3 separate regions of the Homo sapiens genome follow, and regions 2 and 3 are each linked to region 1. Evidence: promoter capture Hi-C in human tissues and cell types (Jung and others, 2019). All regions are on one chromosome and are shown on one strand. The core of a region is centred on a gene start or on the middle of the fragment in contact, and the rest is flanking DNA. Distances in the headings are between cores, read along the strand shown.

What was found. The method cuts DNA at HindIII sites, captures the fragments that hold promoters and counts their contacts. A contact is called where the count stands out against the background at its distance.
Region 2: a fragment that was not itself captured here is called in contact with the fragment with the promoter of TMCC2 in region 1 in 1 of the 25 tissues and cell types used here (hippocampus).
Region 3: a contact is called between a fragment that was not itself captured here and the fragment with the promoter of TMCC2 in region 1, in 2 of the 25 tissues and cell types used here (IMR-90 fibroblasts and hippocampus).

What each region holds. Positions count from the first base shown.
Region 1 is chr1:205,226,278-205,229,391 of GRCh38, forward strand. It overlaps TMCC2 (transmembrane and coiled-coil domain family 2), which reads left to right and starts at 1,669. Exons shown (of 5, transcript NM_014858.4): 1 at 1,669-2,494. The coding sequence starts at 2,288. RefSeq lists an enhancer at 1,320-1,459 and a silencer at 1,590-1,769. The HindIII fragment of the contact is 10,382 bases long and covers 1-3,114 here.
Region 2 is chr1:205,193,053-205,196,166 of GRCh38, forward strand. The region is part of intron 1 of DSTYK (dual serine/threonine and tyrosine protein kinase); the gene reads right to left. Among named protein-coding and RNA genes, the nearest start is that of DSTYK, 17 kb to the right of the region's middle. RefSeq lists an enhancer at 1,546-1,690 and a cis regulatory region at 1,618. The HindIII fragment of the contact is 4,492 bases long and covers 1-3,114 here.
Region 3 is chr1:205,262,844-205,265,957 of GRCh38, forward strand. The region is part of intron 2 of TMCC2 (transmembrane and coiled-coil domain family 2); the gene reads left to right. Among named protein-coding and RNA genes, the nearest start is that of TMCC2-AS1, 27 kb to the left of the region's middle. RefSeq lists an enhancer at 422-1,119. The HindIII fragment of the contact is 8,685 bases long and covers 1-3,114 here.

The DNA.
Region 1 (3,114 bases), core at 419-2,918:
CGAAACCAAATCCCTTCCTTAAACCAAATCCCTTCACTTTCCTTCGGCTTCGAGTCAGGTCATGAACATGTGTCAATGCATGCTCACCATTTGCTGGCCACCGCGTGCCCCTCAAGACTTGCTCAGGGTCTTTGGGGCCGCTGCACTTATCTGGGCCAAGTCAGGCAGGGAGCAGTATATTCCTCTGCTTGAAACCTTGCACCATGGGAACCTGCCCCCACCGGTTCTGTCTAGTCCTGCCCACGGTCTACACTGGCATCCTGCCATCCCCTCACCATTGAAAATGCTAAATAAAGGCTTATAGCTTTGTGTTTCCACATTGTGCTCGATTCTTTGTGGTAGATGTGGGGGGTGGTTCCACATTCCCAGCCCATCCTAAATTCCTATCTTCTAAAAGTGGAGCTGCCTAGTTTAGAAAGTAGCTGCTTGGCTGAAGTAAATTCTTAACAAATTAGTCTCTTCTAGGATACACATTAAAATGAGTGGTTGGAATGGGAAGAAGACAGAACAGAAAGTCAAGAAACTCCGACTAGTGAGACTGAAGTGAGGCTACAATGGCATGATGGGTGCGAAAGAGATTGGTAAACTGTAAAATCCTTTAGAGACCGTGTGGCCCCTTCACTGTCTAGGCCAGTGGTTCTCAAAGGGTAGTGTGTGTCAGAATTACCTGGAGGGCTTGTCAAAACACAGATTTCTTGGCTCACTACTTCTGATTCTCTAGGTCTGGCTGGTGGCCAAGAATTTGCATTTCTATCAAGTTCCCGTGTGATGCTGAAGTTGCTAGTCCAAGGATCACAATTTGTGAACCACTGGTTGCTGGATGAGTAAAATCCATTGTGTCCACAGGAGGCATACAATAGACACTCAGATGGGGTTGTTATTATTACTACTCTCCATATCTTGGTAACCCCAACGTTTGCTCTCTTCTGCTTCCAGATTACTCAGCACAGTTTGGCTGAGATTTATGCAAAGAGAGACAGCATTCCCTTTCCACACATCTATATGTAGCAACCTCCTGCCATTAATACCCTTTCTTATTTAAAAGCTGCTTCACAGTTTGTAAGGAACTCTCACATACGTTATTGTGTTTTTATATGAAATTCTTCCCAATTTCTGAGCATAAATTATGCCAAGTAAAGTCTCATTAAGAAATAATGCACTTAAAGCGGGGGACGGGGCGATGAGGAGAGAACGCCCCCTCCCCTTGGCATTTGCAGCTCTGAATGTAGGCATAGATTTAACTCAGACCAAGTATCCTAGAGGGGATAGGTGTCTCCCTTATGGCTAGAAGGTGCAAAGTTAAGAGCCCCAAAAAGCAGTGATAATAAACATCCCTCTTGTGCTCCTTCTCGCCAAATAAAGCGAATGGGTGGAGGAAATCCTGGGCGAGCCCTCCTCGGCAGGGTCCCTCAAGCTGGAGCCGAAACTGCGACTCCCACGCCCGCCGCCCCCGCCCCTGAACTGCAGCCCGCTCTCTGCAATGCAAAAACGCAGCAGCATCGTCCTCCAGCCCTCTCCTGGGGGATCGCACGGTGCAACCAACCCCAAAAACGAAGCTGCGCGACGCCCCCTCAGCCCCGCGGGCTTCCCATTGGCCGGTTGCCGCTGTCACTCCCTCCTAGCCTCGCCTTCCCGCTCCCGGGCGGAGGCAGCCGGGCGGGGTAGGTTGCGCGCTCGCCGCGGGCTCGGGCCGCGGTCGCGGCTTTGCGGCAGGCTGCGCGTCAGGCGGGGAGCGGGGCGCGCGGGCCGGGGAGGGGGCCGGGCGCGCTGCGGGCTCCGCGGCCGGACCATGCGGGGCAGGGGCCGGTTGCAGGGCCGGGGGCTGCAGCCGGCGCCGATGGCGGCCGACTAGGACCTGCCCGGCCGGCTGCCCCGCGCCCCGCCTCGCCCCGCAGCCCGGCCGGCCGGGAGGGATGCGCTGTGCCGCCCAGCTCCTCTCCGTCCTGCCCATGCCCTGAAGCAGAAAGTTTGGGGGCCGGGGGTTGTCTCCCTTCTCCCTCCTGCAATGACTGCCCAAGGACTCTTGCTGCCCAGCCTCGACTGTGACCTGTCTTCGCTCCCCAGGTCGAAATGAACTATTCCAAGCTATAACCAAGGCTCCCCCTTCTCGCCCCTCCCTCACCCGCCTTTAAGAATTTTTTTTTTAATTCAAGAAATTGTGGTCTGCCATCTCCCCTCCTTGTTAATAATTTAGACCCCAGGCCTCATATGAATATAAGAGGGGGTGCGGTCTTCCCCAAGACGGCGCGCTGGAAGGACAGATTCCCCTTGCCGACCCACATACACCATGAAGAGGTGCAGATCGGACGAGCTGCAGCAACAACAGGGCGAGGAGGATGGAGCTGGGCTGGAAGATGCCGCTTCCCACCTGCCGGGCGCGGACCTCCGGCCTGGGGAGACCACGGGTGCTAACTCTGCTGGCGGGCCAACTTCAGACGCCGGCGCTGCCGCGGCGCCCAACCCAGGTCCCCGAAGCAAGCCTCCTGATTTAAAGGTGAGCGCAGACCATCCCCCCGGCAAGCCCAGCCCGCGACTTAGCTCTCGCCACCCCACGCAGAAGTGCTTTAACAGGATAAAAGTGAGGGGGGAAGCCAGGCAAAGGTCAGAGAGGATGAGCGGATGCTTTGCTGGCACCCCAGGGGGGACGTCAGGTACCATTTATGCCTCTGTCTTTCAGCTCCGTGTCAGGTCTCTGTGTTTGTTCCCCATTATTCAGCAAGCGTTTTAGTGACTCACCCATCCGAGATTGTTTGAATAATGTGTGAAGTGTTATTCGCAGACAAAGGGCTGGAGAAATCCAAGATGCTAACCAAAAAGTGGACAGCAGGTGACCATTAGTTTTCCTTGCTGAGTAAGTCTCTACCCATTGGGATCTTTGTGTGTGTGTGTGTGTGTGTGTGTGTGTGTGTGTGTGTGTGTGTATGTGTGTGAGACGGAGTCTCGTTCTGTCGCCCAGGCTGGAGTGCAGTGGCGCGATCTCGGCTCACTGCAACCTCCACCTCCTCGGTTCAAGCGATTCTCCTGTCTCAGCCTCCAGAGTAGCTGGGATTACAGGCACCCGCCACCACGCCCGGGTAATTTTTGTATTTTTAGTAGAGACGGGGTTTCGCCATG
Region 2 (3,114 bases), core at 260-2,759, 33 kb before region 1:
CATGAGGAATAAAGCATATGGAGAAAACCGCAGCATTACCACTGGCTGGTACACACTTTCAAAAAATGTTATTCTACCTGAGATCTCTAAAGTCTCTTTGCTAAAAGAAACAGTAGGCTCTTTTCAGAGAAATTCTTAGTGCTCTGCTCAACAGTCAGTGTGTATTACTGTTTGGGTGACTACTCTGAAAAGAGAAGATGGGAGGGAGGAAATACTCGTGACCTGTTTCTGTTGCTAGTGACTCTTTAAGATACATACTTTATTTAAATTGTTTTTGGGGTAATGTCAATCGATTTGTAGCAACACATTCTCCTTCTTGCCTATTTTCCATCCCATCAGGCTCAGAAAACAATAGCCCAAAGTATGGTGCTTTGGCATGCTGAGCACTTTGAACTAAAGGAGATTGGAAGGCTTCAGAAGCAAGGTTGCTCTCTGACCTTCTCCTAGCCTCCTGTCTGCCTCCCCTTTTTCTCCCCTTAAGCTACTCACAGAAACCAGAATTCCTCTTCCTCAAGACCATAGAAACTAGAAACCCTGGCCGGGCACAGTGGCTCATGCCTGTAATCCCAACACTTTGGGAGGCCCAGGTGGGTGGATCACTTGAGGTCAGGAGTTCGAGACCAGCCTGGCCAACATGGTAAAACCCCACCTCTACTAAAAATACAAAAATTAGCCAGGCGTGGTAGCATGTGCCTATAGTCCCAACTAGTTAGGAGGCTAAGGCAGGAGAATCGCTTGAACCTGGGAGGTAGGGGCTGCAGTGAGCCGAGATAGTGCCACTGCACTCCAGCCTGGGCAACAGAGTGAGACTCCGTCTCAAAAAAAAAAAAAAAAAGGAACTAACTAGCAATCCTCTTCTCTGAAGCAAGCCATAAAACTAGAAAGGTTGCTCTCTTTTCCTCTGAAGACCCTCATTCCAGAGAGGACCTGCCACATCCCACACCCTGGGGGAAGGAATGCACATAAAGAGCCCAAGAATAACCTGAGCAGACCAGCCTTGCTGGGTTTCTCAGTCTATTACCATTAGATCATGTCCTACTGTCCAATCACTTTCTACAAAGCAGTCAATTCTTCATCAAACCTAAGCATAAAAACAGTTTTCCCTGGGTCTTTGTGACTTCATTTCTAAAGGCTCCCGTGTCACATAAATTTGTTATGCTTTTCTCTTGTTAAACTGTCTTTTGTTAGAGAAGTGTTGGCCATGACCCTCAAGATGAGTGAGGAAATCTATCACACCTTTCAGCCACTACCAATCAATAATACATACTCGTGAAAGGTAACTGAAGGCTCTTAAGGTACAGTCTATGTCCAAGGTAGGGAAGGCACTACAAAAGTTGGTGAAATAGAAAATGCTTTTGCTTTATTATACTCCTGCAGCTCATAAAGTTAACATGGACTTCAAAGTTAATTCAGGTCTCAACAGAGTTATTACTGCAATACTTGTTCCTGGTACCCAAGGATTTCCCTCCTTCAGTAGTTTTAAAAATCTCACTTTTTTTTTTTTTTTTAAAATAGAGATGGGGTCTCACTATGTTGCCCAGGCTGGTCTCAAACTCCTGGGTTCAAGCGACCCTCCCACCTCAGCCTCCCAAAGTGCTAGGATTATAGGCATGAGCCGCCGTGCCTGGCCTAAAAAAAAAAGACAGAGACAGAGCTCAAAAAAAGAAAACTCCAGCTCTGTCGCCCAGGCTGGAGTGCAGTAGCATGATCTTGGGTCATAGCAACCTCCACCTCCCTGGTTCAAGCAATTCCTGTGCCTCAGCCTCCCAAGTACCAAGTAGCTGGGACTACAGGCGTGTGCCAAAACTCCAGCTCTGTCGCCCAGGCTGGAGTGTAGTGGCATGATCTTGGGTCAGGGCAACCTCTACCTCCCAGGTTCAAGTGATTCTCGTGCCTCAGCCTCCCGAGTAGCAGGGACTACAGGCAAGTGCCACTAATTTTTTTTTTTTTTTTTTGTATAGACAGGATTTCACCATGTTGGCCAGGCTGATCTCAAACTCCTGACCTCAGGTGATCCGCCTGCCTCAGCCTCCCAAAGTGCTGAGATTACAGGTGTGAGCCACCATGCCTGGCCAAAAATATCACTTCTAACATTGAATTTTCCATGCTTTTATGGGAAGTCAACTTAAGTCCCCTCTGAAAGTGAATGAAAAACAAAGGATTTTTATAGTTAACTGAGGCAACCAGTGACACAAAGATGCATTTCCACAAATAGGTAGTGATGTTTTATTTCTTACTATCTATACCAAAAGTAGAGAAAAGAACAAATCCTAAATTGAGAAAGTAATCTTATATAGTCTTTCTACTACAGTCAATTCTACCACAAGCTTCAAAGTACTAAGCTACAAAAATTCCAGGGACTGAGACAGAAAAAATTCAGTCTAGAAATATTTATTTATCCTTCCTAAACAAGCTCTCTGACCTTCAGCTAAATTTTAAAGACTGACACAGAAGGCACCCTCATTTAAGACAAACAGATGCTTAGGTAGTCTGGCTTTCAGAATCTTCAGGACCAAGTAGTACACGCTATTTCTTTGGAAGGGGATGGTTATTGAAGATTAGAGACTGAAATGCACTCTAGTAGGCAAAGCTCTCGCTGGAATCGGAAAAGTCAAGTTGGCAGAAGTCTCTCTAAAGTTATTCTATGTCAGGACCACGTTAAGATCTCTCACAGCTTTTAAGAAGCAGATAGTATTGGCACCGGGGGAGAGGAGACCGCCTCCCTAGGGGCTGATACTCCCTGGGAGCCACGTGAAATGGGAACGCACTCAGCAGCATGCTGAACAAGCTCCTTTCTGGGTGAAACTGCTCCTGAGACTGGTCACACTACCGAGGGAACAGAATCACAGCTGGCAGTTGAGGCTTTAACGTATGGGACGCAGAGATGGAAGTAGTTCCTTGAAGGAAGCCAACCCCATGCTTTACAGAGGGCTTAGTTTCTGGCATTTGGAACGCAGTGTATAACAGTTTATAAGCATTACCAATGATCCAAAGGTGGGAATATGTCAAAAGGACACAGGAACCAGCTTGAAGGGAAACTCACTCACCTCACCAAAGTGGGGACAATTTATGCATAAAAAGTGATAGGAAGATATTACAATCCATTGAAAAAAT
Region 3 (3,114 bases), core at 419-2,918, 37 kb after region 1:
AGCTCTTAGATGCTTTCCTGAGGTTGGGCTCCAGGCTACAAGCAGGAATGAGCTCAGTCTCAACTAGGATCTCGTGGTGAGTCCGTAGTAAAAGTCTCTGGTTGGCAGGGGGAGTTATTGAAGGGAGTTAATTCAGATGGAAGTGGTTGCCGAGGTGTTCCAGCCTCGAATGCAAAAACCACAAACAGGATCTTGGTATCTCCCACAGAGTGTTCCCTCAAGCACCCCCCACCGCCTCCCGCAACACACACAAACCTCTTCTCTCTCTTGTTCTGAGGTTTGCCCACATGCATGCAGGTACACACACACACACCCCTAAGCACGAGACGGGGCTGGGTGGGCAAGTGGAGTCTGCATGGAGACCAGTGAGATTAAGGGTTACCTCCAGTGAGGAAGGCTGGAGATGCCACCGTGATGTCTTCAGAGGTGATTTTAAATGCTATGGCCAATATTTGGACCTTTCTAAGGATTTGCACGCCCTCAGATATGGAGAAGGCAGGACGGGGCTGGGGAGAACTCCTTTCTTTTTCCTTGCTCTCTCAGGGTGTAAAAACCCACAGTCTGGCCGAGTGCAGCTTGGCTCAGGCCTGTAATCCCAGCACTTTAGGAGGCCAAGGCAAGAGGATTGCTTAAGCCCAGGAGTTTGAGACCAGCCTGGGCAACATGGCAAAACCCTTTCTCTACAAAAAAATACACAAATTAGCCAGGTGTGGTGGCATGTACCTGTAGTCCCTGCTACTGGGGAGGCTGAGGTGGGAGGATTTGAGCCTGGGGAGGTCAAGGCTGCAGTGAACCATGATTACCTTACTGCACTCCAGCACTCCAGCACTCCAGCCTGGGCAGCAGAGTGATTCTGACTCAACAAAAAACAAAAAAAGCCTGCAGTCTTAGCTATATGAAATTCCAGTTTCATCGCTGTGGAGTGAGGCTGGGCTGTGGTTGATAACCACTGATTAGACTCTTGCTTCCTAAAAAGGTGGCAGAGGGCCAGCTCTCCCAGCCAAAGGTGTCTTAAGCTGTGGATCTGTCAGAGCTACCCAGCCCTCCAAGGTGAGGTTAGGCCCTGAGTTTTGGAGCCAGACAGGATTTATATTCTAGGTTCTTTACTTACTAGTGGTGTAGTCCTGGGCAAGTTACATCTGTAGGCCTTGGTTTTCTCTCCTGTAAAATGGAAATAATAGTGCTACCCATCTTGTGAGGTTAATACTGGGATTAAATGAATTAATAGGTGTAAACACTGAGAGACAAGTCTGACGTATGTCAAGAAATGTTAGTGTTTGAAGGAGATTGGTTCCAAGACCCCCTGCAGATACCAAAGTTCCAGATTGCTTAAGTCTCATACAGTAAATAGTGTAGTATTTGCATAGAACCTGCACACATCCTCCCTTTAAATCATCTCTAGATTACGTACAATACCTAGTACAATGTAAATACTATGAAAATAGAAAATAGTGTGACACTGTTGTTTCTTGTTTTTTGTTTTTTGTTTTTGTTTTTGAGACGGAGTCTCTGTCACCCAGGCTGGAGTGCAGTGGTGCAGTCTTGGCTCACTGCAACTTCCGCCTCCCAGGTTCAAGTGATTCTTCTGCCTCAGCCTCCTGAGTAGCTGGAACAACCGGAACATGCCACCACACTCAGTTAATTTTGTTTTTTTTTTTTGGGACGGAGTCTCGCTCTGTTGCCCAGGCTGCAGTGCAGTGGCGTGATCTCGGTTCACTGCAAGCTCCGCCTCCCAGGTTCGCGCCATTCTCCCGCCTCAGCCTCCCGAGTAGCTGGGACTACGGGTGCCCGCCACCACATCCCACACCCAGCTAATTTTTGTATTGTTAGTAGAGACAGGGTTTCACCATGTTGGCCAGGCTGGTCTCCAACTCCTAACCTCAGGTGATCCGCCCGCCTTGGCCTCCCAAAGTGCTGGGATTACAGGTGTGAGCCACTGCGCCTGGCCCCTGTATTTTAAAATTTGTATTATTATTATTTTAATCCATGGTTGGTTGAATCCATGGATGTGGAATTCTCAGATACAGAAGGCTAACTATAATTGTTATCCTTATCCTTTGTCCAAAACATTTAGAATTTGAGAAAAAGAGAAGAGCCCAGAGGCCATAGGGAAAATATGCCACCTTTCTGGAAGCCAGTGGAACTGAGTCCTCCACAGGGAAGAGAATAAAATGGGGATATGTTCTGTGACTGGAGACTGACCCGCTCAATCCAGGCATTGCAGACCTTCATGTCACCAAGGAGGTGTCCAGGCCTCTGTGGAGGGACGGAAGGAGCTGGTGTCCTGCTGCAGGACTGTTAGGCTCAAGTCTGGGTCCTAGGGTAGAGAAGAGGGGTGGACGAGGGGGCCAGGGCTTCAGCCCAGGCCTCTGCACCCACCATCAGGCCCCAGCTGTTTTTCCCAGGAGTGTTTCTTCTCCTCTCATTAATGGGGATTTCACAGCCAGCTTCAACTCCGCTTTTCCATTTGTAAGCCAGAAAGATGCCAAATCAAGGGAGGAGAGAGCCAAGCTGCTAGGAAGGAGCCACGGCAGGTGGAGACTTTGCTATTTTACACTCCTGTATAGTCCTAAAACACTTTTGCTTTTCACAGCATTTCACATCCATTTCTTATTAGCTCCTCCCACTCTCCCCCTAAGTAGTTGGGACAGACTCTGTCCCTGTTACAAAGATGAGCAAATGGCAGTGATGCAGCCAGACTCAGAACCCATTTTCTTTTCTTTTTTTTTTTTTTTTGAGACGGAGTCTCGCTCTGTCGCCCAGGCTGGTGTGCAGTGGCGTGATCTCGGCTCACTGCAACCTCTGCCTCCCAGTTCAAGAAATTCTCCTGCCTCAGCCTCCTCAGTAGCTGGGATTACAGGCGTCCGCCACCACGCCCAGCTAATTTTTGTATTTTTAGTAGAGACAGGGTTTCACCATGTTGGTTAGGCTGGTCTCGAACCCCTGACCTCATGATCCACCCGCCTCAGCCTCCCAAAGTGCTGGGATTACAGGCATGAGGCACTGCACCTGGCCCCAGAACCCATTTTCTAGATATTCTTTCTCCCAAGAAGACAGTGAAAGAGAGCTGGGCATCTGTGGAAAGGGCAGCAGCTTTATAAGAGAGACAGGTTC